3 separate regions of the Homo sapiens genome follow, and regions 1 and 2 are each linked to region 3. The links are contacts of gene promoters, found by promoter capture Hi-C in blood cells and fetal thymus (Javierre and others, 2016). All regions are on one chromosome and are shown on one strand. The core of a region is centred on a gene start or on the middle of the fragment in contact, and the rest is flanking DNA. Distances in the headings are between cores, read along the strand shown. Region 1 overlaps SUGCT (succinyl-CoA:glutarate-CoA transferase). Region 2 overlaps SUGCT (succinyl-CoA:glutarate-CoA transferase). Region 3 holds the start of INHBA (inhibin subunit beta A).

Evidence for each region. The method cuts DNA at HindIII sites, captures the fragments that hold promoters and counts their contacts. A CHiCAGO score of 5 or more calls a contact.
Region 1: a fragment that was not itself captured here is called in contact with the fragment with the promoter of INHBA in region 3 in 1 of 17 cell types (M2 macrophages); the score reaches 5.3 in M2 macrophages.
Region 2: a fragment that was not itself captured here is called in contact with the fragment with the promoter of INHBA in region 3 in 1 of 17 cell types (naive B cells); the score reaches 5.6 in naive B cells.

What each region holds. Positions count from the first base shown.
Region 1 is chr7:40,532,352-40,535,733 of GRCh38, reverse strand. The region is part of intron 12 of SUGCT (succinyl-CoA:glutarate-CoA transferase); the gene reads right to left. Among named protein-coding and RNA genes, the nearest start is that of SUGCT-AS1, 13 kb to the left of the region's middle. The HindIII fragment of the contact is 712 bases long and covers 1,680-2,391 here.
Region 2 is chr7:40,406,226-40,409,425 of GRCh38, reverse strand. The region is part of intron 9 of SUGCT (succinyl-CoA:glutarate-CoA transferase); the gene reads right to left. Among named protein-coding and RNA genes, the nearest start is that of SUGCT-AS1, 140 kb to the left of the region's middle. The HindIII fragment of the contact is 166 bases long and covers 1,727-1,892 here.
Region 3 is chr7:41,701,530-41,704,615 of GRCh38, reverse strand. It overlaps INHBA (inhibin subunit beta A), which reads left to right and starts at 1,526. Exons shown (of 3, transcript NM_002192.4): 1 at 1,526-1,611. All of the region lies in intron 1 of INHBA-AS1 (INHBA antisense RNA 1), which reads right to left. The HindIII fragment of the contact is 6,998 bases long and covers 1-3,086 here.

The DNA of each region.
Region 1 (3,382 bases), core at 786-3,285, 1.2 Mb after region 3:
GCCTCCTGTTGTATCCATGTTGCTTCAAAGAACATGATTTCATTCTTTCTTATGGCTGCATAGTATTCCATAGTATATATGTACCACACTTTTAGTCCAACCCTGATTGGCATGTAGGTTGATTCAGTGTCTTTGCTATTGTGAAAAGCCCTGCAATGAACATGTAAGTGCATGTGTCTTCTTGGATATACACTCACTAATAGGATTGCTGGGCTGAATGGCAGTTCTGTGTTCTTTCAGGAATCTCCCAACTCCTTTCCACAGTGGCTGAACTAATTTGCATTCCCATATTCTATGTCAATTAATGAAGGAACAGAAAACCAAATACTGCATGTTCTCTTTATATGTGGGAGGTAACAATGTCTATACATGGACATAAAGACAGCAGCAATAGAAACTGGGGACTACCGGGGGTAGGGAGGAAGGGGAACAAGGGTTGACCAACTAACTATTGAGTATCATGCTCAGCACCCGGCTGATGGAATCATTTGTAACCCAAACCTCAGCATCACACAATACACCTGGGTAACAAACCAGCACATGTACCCATGGAATCTAAAAGTTGGAGGAAAAAAAATTAAAAATAAGTGATATTATATATACAAACTTATCTCCAAATTATAAAAATTTTGAGATAGACTATGTTTTATTGCATCTTTATATTTAGATAAATGATAATGAAGATATTATATTTAATTGAATGCAAATTTGTTCTGCCATGAAAATGTAATCTATAGAGAAGAGTCACTCACCAAACACTAAAAACATTAAAAAATCTTATAAATAAATATATTTGAAATCATTTCAGTTTTGGGGAAAATCTCTTTGTGATCACCTGTCACCAATAAGTTATAAACATATGTTAAGACAAATAGAGTAGGCAAAACTTATAGTCGAAAACATTTTATTTCTTGAAAGCATGTTTACCATTATAATGGCATAAGTAATTTTTCAAATTTAACTAAAGGTTATTCGGAAATTACTGGAAATCAGAATGAAAGATAAAGAAATTTTAGGCCGGGCGCAGTGGCTCACACCTGTAATCTCAGCACTTTGGGAGGCCTAGGTGGGTGGATCACCTAAGGTCAGGAGTTCAAGACCAGTCTGGCCAACATGCCGAAACCCCGTCTCTACTAAAAATACAAAAATCAGCTGGGCACGGCGGCACATGCCTGTAAACCCAGCTACTGGGCATGGCAGCACATGCCTGTAGTCCCAGCTACTCGTGAGGCTGAGGAAGAGAATCGCTTGAACCTGGGAGGTGGAGGTTGCGGTGAGCCAAGATCGTGCCACTGCACTAAAGCCTAGGCGACAGAGTGAGACTCCGTCTCAAAAAAAAAAAGAAATTAAGAACTAATTATTTGATTCTTACAAATATGTCCTAATTCAATATGAAATCATTGGCATAATGAAAAGCAAATTCTTACTGAACACTATCAATAAGATCAATGTCCTTAGAATTATTAAATTATATTGGAAGTGACAACTAATAGCACACCACAAAAACAGAATCTGTGGTAAGTTACAGGCAATAGACAAAAACCATCTCAAAGAGAGTTTCTCTAGTTTCATTAGTCTTAAGAGAACATAGTAAGATCATCACAAATAGGTATTGGGGATTTTTTTAAATGGTACCAATTTAAAGTTATTTTCCTAAAAATTTATGCCAATCCTAAGCTTATGCCATTAACACACACAAACACTTAGCTACAAAATTTAAGTATATACTTTCGAATGTCACATATGTCTTTTGGATGTAGCAGTGATAGTTTTCAGAGAAAATGGCAATTAAAGAATTGCAAACTGTTCCCAAACCTGTAAGTTATTTGTGTACATCTGTAAAAAGACTGTCCATTTTGCAATATTTTAACCAATAGGGAGTAATAATGTAAAAGAAGCTGAGTAACTTTTTAAAACATGCTGTATTTATATTATGATGCATTATTAGGTGTGACTGAAATGTTCACAAAAGTTATTAAAACACTAGATGTTTTAGAAAGTTGTTATTTAATAGAACATATAAGTGATGGAAAATCAAGTAGGTAATACTATTTTTCAGATCAGAATTTATGTTTTGCCTAAATTTTGGTTATATGCTAAGTTATAAGAATTCTCTTAAATAGGTTAAATGTAGACTTAAAGATAATTTCTTTGCCTTCAAAATTAGAAGTAGTTCTTTAGAAGTGGCTAAATTTCAAAATTTCTTTGCAATTGTGGAAAATATGTCAAAAATATTCTCCAAATGCAAAAAAAGTCTACAAAACTGTAAAAACATAAAACAAGATTTTGGATTTATATATTTCTGCATAATTATAGTAAAATATAAATATTAACACTTAATTGATATTCTAAAATATCAATTAGATTGATTAGATACACTATTACTAAGCTTGTTTATATTTTGAGAGCAATAATTTAAGCAAAGTAAAAGAAAGTTTAGAACTACCCTTTAACAAAATAGACACATATGAAACAATTGAGAATGTGCAAAAATTTTATAGGTGAGGAAAATGTGACTCACAGATTTTTGTTTCATTGGTCAACACATAATTAAATTTTATTTATTATTGTATCACCTTTATACATTTCTGTTTTTAACACAAAATTCAAAATAATGCTACTTGTATTTCATGGCTATTACAGGGCATATTACTTTAGCTTGCACAGTTACTATAGCAACTTGTTATATTCTGCACCATCTGAAAATATTTTGGGGGTAAAAGGAAGGGTTTATAAAGGGATTTAGTAGCCTATCACAGATTTTACAAAGCAGAAACTGTTAAGCAACTCAATAAAAATTAAAGATCACATTTCTATTTACTCATGTGAGCTGAGAGACTGATGATGTGGTATTGGTTTAATTTCAACATAATTAAAATATTGTATTCATAATTCACATACGAAACATTAATTTACAGGTCCTAAAGCTTTACTGTTGTGGAACATAGTGTTGATACTATTGTTTGGATGACATAATGGAATCAGTATGTTACTTTATGAACATCCCCTCTTAATATTAAAAAACAAAACAAACGAAAAACCTTCTTTGCCTAATGTTAACCTAAAATGTCTAAAAATTTTTGCTTGCTTACCTAGAATCAACTCTAGAGAACCTCACACTACAGATTAAAAGTAATCCAAGGCGATCCACAAACACAGCAAATACACACACACACACACACACACACACACACACACACACACACAGACATACTTGCTCAGTTCAGGGTGTCAGACTTGAAGTGATTCTTAATCCTTCAGAATTTACTGGGTCTTAAGAATCCTACAGATTCTCTCCATTCCAGAAAAATTATACACACACAGATACCTATCTAATGCTTATCATTAGGCCTCTCCTTAGGGGAATTAACCCCACATTAAT
Region 2 (3,200 bases), core at 560-3,059, 1.3 Mb after region 3:
TAGCCAAGTGTGGTGGTGCACACCTGTAGTCCCTACTTGGAGGCTGAGGTGGGAGGATCACTTGAGCCCAGGAAGTCAAGGCTGCTGTGAGCCATGATCGCACCATTGCAATACAGCCCGGGCAACAGAGCAAGACCCTGTCTCAAAAAATAAAAATAAAAAAGAGAGACAGCTCAGCATGATGGCTCACACCTGTAATCCCAGCACTTTGGAGAGGCCAAGGTGGGCAGATAGCTTGAGTTCATAAGTTTGAGACCAGCCTGGGCATCATGGTAAAACCCCAGCTCAACAAAAAATACAAAACTTGGCCAGGTGCAGTGGCTTGCGCCTACAGTTCCAGCTACTCAGGAGGCTGGGGTGGGAGGATCACTTGAGCCTGGGAGGTAGAAGCTGCAAGTGAGCCATGACTGCACCACAGCTTCCAGCCCAGGCGACACAGCAAGATGCTGTCTCAAAAAAACAAACAAAAGAAACAAAAAGCAGAGAGAGAGAGAACAGAAAATAAAGGCCAAAACCATGTAGGCCTTTGTGTATCTGTTCATAAAATAAGTTCAAATCACTGAGGTATTATTAACATAAATGGTTAAAGGTGAATGGAATAACTATTTGAAGGGCCCACACTACTTATCTTTGGGCAAATGACTTCATTTTGCTTCTGTTTGTTTTGTGTTTCCCTGTCATTTTGGTATTTTCCTGAGCTCTCCAAATTTCCAACAATGAGAATGCTTCCATTTCGTAATTAGAAAAAGCTCATAAATGTTATTTTAATAGTATGGGTTCAATGGAAGTTGTAATTAGAAAAGAAAAAAAGTTTTTAAAAATTCTATAAATCTGAGATTCCCTCCACAATGATGCAACTGTGGGAAAAATTGCTTTGGTAATAAACTATAACCCAGGTAAACTGTGAAAAAGAAAATGGCTGAAAAATATTCTTAGACAGTTGGGTATTGACTTGGAAAATTAGGACTTCATGAGGAGTTCCACGAGGTCACCATCTAAGTAAGCAGAAAGCGGGAGGCATACTAGGATGGGATAAAAATAATCAAGTCAATCCTTCGGTTTGCAGAAGTCAGTTTTTAACATGGTTTCAGGAACAAAAGTGTTCAAATGATAAGGACTAGGTTTCCTAAATTACTAGTAATATAGATGAGTATCTCTAGAAAAGTAACTAAAGAATATTTTCTCAATAGTAGCTCCAATATATATGATAAATAGAATATGCACATATATGCATTATACATTAACCAAGAGCATCTGTCATTTAAACAAAAGGAGGTAACTGTAATTAATGTTGCTTTCAAGTTTAAGAAATGCTCTAGCAATACTGTCTTTTAAATAAAAAAGGTATCATCTTCAATTTGCCTTCCAAATTTTTTTACATAATGACTACCAAAAGACTACAGAAAAGTACATTTAATCTGAATGACTTGGAGAAGCTTGGCGGCATCGAAATCAATAAACCATTAATATCCTTTCAAAGAAAATAGGTAAAATAGAACTAAAGAAAACGTCTGAACTCAGGGGTAAGGTAGTTTATGGTAATAGAAAACTATTCCAGCATCACTAGGGAATGAATTGGATGGCTCTTATTTCAGAGAATATGTCCTGTTTTAAGCTAAGATAGTCTCGTTTAGAGGAAATATAAATGAAAATTTTCTTCTAGTCTATGTTGCCAATTCGTAAATTGGGGGAGGGGGGGACTCTTAATTCATTCCTAAGAAAAGCTTTCTAAAAGCTCAGATCTGCCAAATCCTTTTGCAGAGGAGTGCCAAAATAGAACGAGGGAAGATCAAAAACAAAGTTATTGTCAATGCTGTTCATTCTTCAATACTTAACACTGAACAGAACAATACTCTTTTTTTTGGCATGATCTTCTTCTTAGTACTGAAGCTTACTATTTCTATCTTCTTAAGACTTAAAGAGGACCATAAATGATGACGTACTTCTTTTTTTTAATTTTTGCCAGTTTTAATATAATATTTTATATTTTCATCAACTTTAAAGATATATAAATAATTGAATATTTACATTAATTTCAGATAATATCCTGACAAATGCTAACTTTCATTGTTTTATTAAAACAAAATATCTGGAATTATGCTTAAATACTAAAAGCCATTTCATCCAGCTTTTGGAATATCACACAGCTACATTTATTATATTTCTATTCATAGAGCCAATCAGGGTAAAATTTTCCTTGAATCAACAAAGATACGTGAACGGCAAAATTTATCTGATGACAATAAGGTGAATTGCAAGCATTTTTGTGTACGTTTGTGCATTTGAATTCTTATATTCATTCATATTTTGTTTTCTTTGTTGTAGTCTTCAAAGAAGGCCTTCAAGCTCTTTGTTCTTTTTTTTATCTTTTTTGACAAAAAAATGTATTTAAGTTTTTATTTTTGTAAGGTAGACTTTATTTCGAAACTTGTTTTCAACCAAGAACCTAGACTATCATCATATTTCCCAGTTTTCTGTCCATATGTATAATTTAAAGCTTAGCAAAAATAGCTGAGGGATCCTTTGTTTCTAGTCCCATGCCAAATGATCATTGTAAAAATTCAGAATTCTCTCAGCTGTCATTGAATATGAATGAGCACCTAAAAAACCAGTATACTTTGCAATATTATTTACTCTTTTAAAAACTTCTCAAAAGTCTAGGACAGATTTTTGGAATACTTATCCCTGAGATACATTCTTATGATTAAATTACAACTTTTTGAATAAAGAGAATAGTGTACATTAACTCACAATTGAACAAACCCTAATCAGGTTAACTCTCTAGTTAACCTAAATAAATCAATTTCCTTGCCTAATGAAAAGACCTTTGAAAAAATTATGACAGTGAGAAAACTCTGAAAGTGAAAGAAATCTGACCTGTCTCCATCTTGCTTCTAACCTCCAAGTTGCCCTCGTTCATTCCTCTGTGTAGGCCAAACTTGAGAGGAATTTACTTTATAGTTTAACTTTGAAACAAAGATGATAACAGTCCCTCCCCAAAATGAACCCATCCTTGCTTGGGGACCACACTGCCTTTGTGAAACTAATAAATCAGCCACAACATTAGAAATTATGGCTCACAAGTCACACAGCCAAAGGCCACAAGATTCCTAACCTCCCCAGTTACTCCTATATATAATATTACCATTGTCAAACCTAAGATTGGTATTGGAGGTATTTCTCAGACCCTGCATTCTGAT
Region 3 (3,086 bases), core at 277-2,776:
ACACTACTTTGTGTGGAGGCGGAGGGGATGTTTTCAGGACACTAGGGTTCATGTGTGGGTCAGGGGTGAGTTTAGATGCCCTGAAGGTCATTGACTCCACTAATTCTCAGCAAAAAGGGTGGAGAAGTTTCTTTCTTATAAAGGGTTTGAGTTCACCCAGTGCTAAGCTGAGGGGCAGGTTTGGAGTTCACCATCATTAATCCTATTTCTGTCTTCGCCACTCAGATTCACTCTCTTCCTCTACAACCTAATGATTTTTTTCCTACTTCATTTCTGCATATGCAGTTCTTAGAATACTCCTTCCCCCCACCCCCATGCAGCTCAGCACCCACACTTTCTCTGTATCTAGCCAAGAGAGACCCTTTTACACAGAAAACTTCTGGTGTCCTAATGGAACCTGCTTAAGCCACACATCAGGAGGCCAGAGCCTCTATATTTTGCTTGTGGGCACAGTGAAAAGTTTATTTTATGCATGTTAAATCCTGCATACAAAACAACATATCTGGTCATATGGCTCTCATTAGCTCCCAATTTTGCACATTTTATCCAACTTGTCATGAGAACTGGGCTTATGCTTCAACTGTAGTCCTTCAAACAACCCTTCACCGTTCTTGTCAGAGGACCCCTTCCTCCTGTGTTATTTACCAGACTTGCCAACACCCCTCCCCCACAAAAAAAGCCTGACCAGCTTTACCCCTATTTCAAGGAGTGTTCACTTCTTTTCATTAATCTGCTGTTATATTTGTAACAATTTAGAAATTATAGGAGTTGAAGTTCTGGTAAAAAAGAATGATGCATGAGGGTTTTTGTTGTTGTTGTTGTTGTGTGTGTGTGTGTGTGTGTGTGTGTTTGGTTAGTTAGAATGAGATTCTAAAGACCTGGGAAGGATACTTATGAAGTTCATTTAAAGAGAATTACTATTTCCAAAGTTCTTGATTTATGAAGCAGGCATTCAATTTCAAGATGTAAAATAATAGTGTAAGTTGGTTGGGGTCGGGGGAGACCATCATCATATGATTATACAGATTTTCCCAATTTTTTTCCTCAATGAAATAGCTTATTTTAAAAATATAAAATTAGAATCCCTATAAAGAACACTACCAATTTTCTTTCCTGAAAGAAACAATAAAATACTTTGTAAATAGAAGCAACTTCATGAAGTAACAGATGTTTTATGTAAAGACATAAAACTGAACCTGAATATAACGAGACGTGTGTGCGAGTAGTAAAAGTTGAAAGTTGGACACACTCATTGAGACATATCTATTTGATTCCAATGTTTTTCTAAAAGGTAGAGTAATCCTAGCCAGAGGTTTCACTGGCTCAGTGCATCACCCAGTAGTGTCTCAGAAGCCAGGAAGGGCTTTCCATTAGATAATGAATTATGAAATGTCTCACACTGGAAAAACCAGTCATCCGCTGATGTCATGCTGATTCCAACCAATCCCAAACAAAGCCCCAGCCCTCCTCTGTTTCAGTGGTACCAATGTGTGGTGTACAAATAAGTAGTACAGTATAAAACTTCACAGTGCCAATACCATGAAGAGGAGCTCAGACAGCTCTTACCACATGATACAAGAGCCGGCTGGTGGAAGAGTGGGGACCAGAAAGGTAATGCTTTTTAACTCTTACTTCTGAGCTCTTTACACATTCAAAGATAGGAAAGCTAGGAGGAATTTTACAACTAATTGGCATTTCCAATGTGCATTGTGATGTGTACCTTTTTATATTATTCAGGCAGGTTAATACAGCTTTTAATAGTCCTAGAGCATGCAAATAGATTATATGTTTATACAAGCCACTCAGCACATATATACAAGTACATATGCCAAAGAGAAAGCTATTTTTAAGAGTTACATTCGCAAACAGTAAATTCAGGGAACACACACATACTCAGATGCAGAGAGAATCCAAATATTGATAAGTTGCACTTATCTAAATGCTGCTATTAGGACTCCTGAGTTGTTTAGAGCCATTAAACTTTTGGTTGTATTTCAGACTTTCTTGTAAAACTTAATTGAACTGCAAAACATTTTGGGTACTGTATATGTGACTCCAAATAGGTGGATGATGTTAAGTATTATAGCACAAAGATTTTTTATAAAACCATTGTAACACAAATGTCCCCTGCCTCCCCCATTCTCTTTCACCATCCCCGTAAAAAATATGAGGCTTTTTAGGCAATGTTGACAAAGTTTTAACAATAATGGTGGAGTAATTGATGTTTCTGGAGCTGAAACCCCAAAGGTGTTAGGTTACTTGTAACAGAAAAAGTCTTACAAATAGTTGTTTTGGAAAAGGGGACAGTATATATAATTCAGAAAGCATTGTTAACCTGTGCAAACTGTAATTATAACTTAGTGTCACAATTTTCTTGCCCTCTTCCCCTTGCACTCAGATCTTATCTTGTAGTAATGATATTTATTAACTCTTTCCACCTAAACTGCATTGCTTGACTGTAATGCTATGAACACACTAGGTGTCAGATATAAGCTGAGTGTATCTTCAGAAACCAAGAGGGCTTATGTGTGGGAAAGAAACCGAGAGGGAAGGAACGCTTTAACAGATGGACCCCTTAAAGATTCTTCTGCAAGATAAAAGCAATAAGACAGAAAATGAAAAAGAGGGGAGGGGGAAGAATTTTTTTTAAGCCTTAGAAAGGCATTGTTAAAAAATTCACATTTTTCTTTTTCTGTGCACACTAAAATCCATGATGATTTCATCTGCACTGTTCCTTTGAGGGAAAAAGAAGCAGTCAAGGAGGCTGTCTATGAATGCACTGGTCGGGACAGGCTTGGGGCAAGCTGAAAAAACTACCACATGACAGAGAAAAATAATTTGCCAATATATTTTAGAGAGTCTTTTCCCATAGGACCAGTTATTCAAGTCATACGAGTGCACTCTTTTTATAAAAGGATGTGGGAAAGGCCAAGAGAATTTTGCATTTTATCTGTGAAGTCCGGCGAGTGGTGGTAGGCTGTAATGTGTGAGAGTGAGTGGGTCCCCGGCAGAAGGGGGCAGCTGAACGCGACGGGGAGAAAGCGCTTCTGGAACTTGGGCTTGTGACAGGCTGCCTGCCCTCTGGT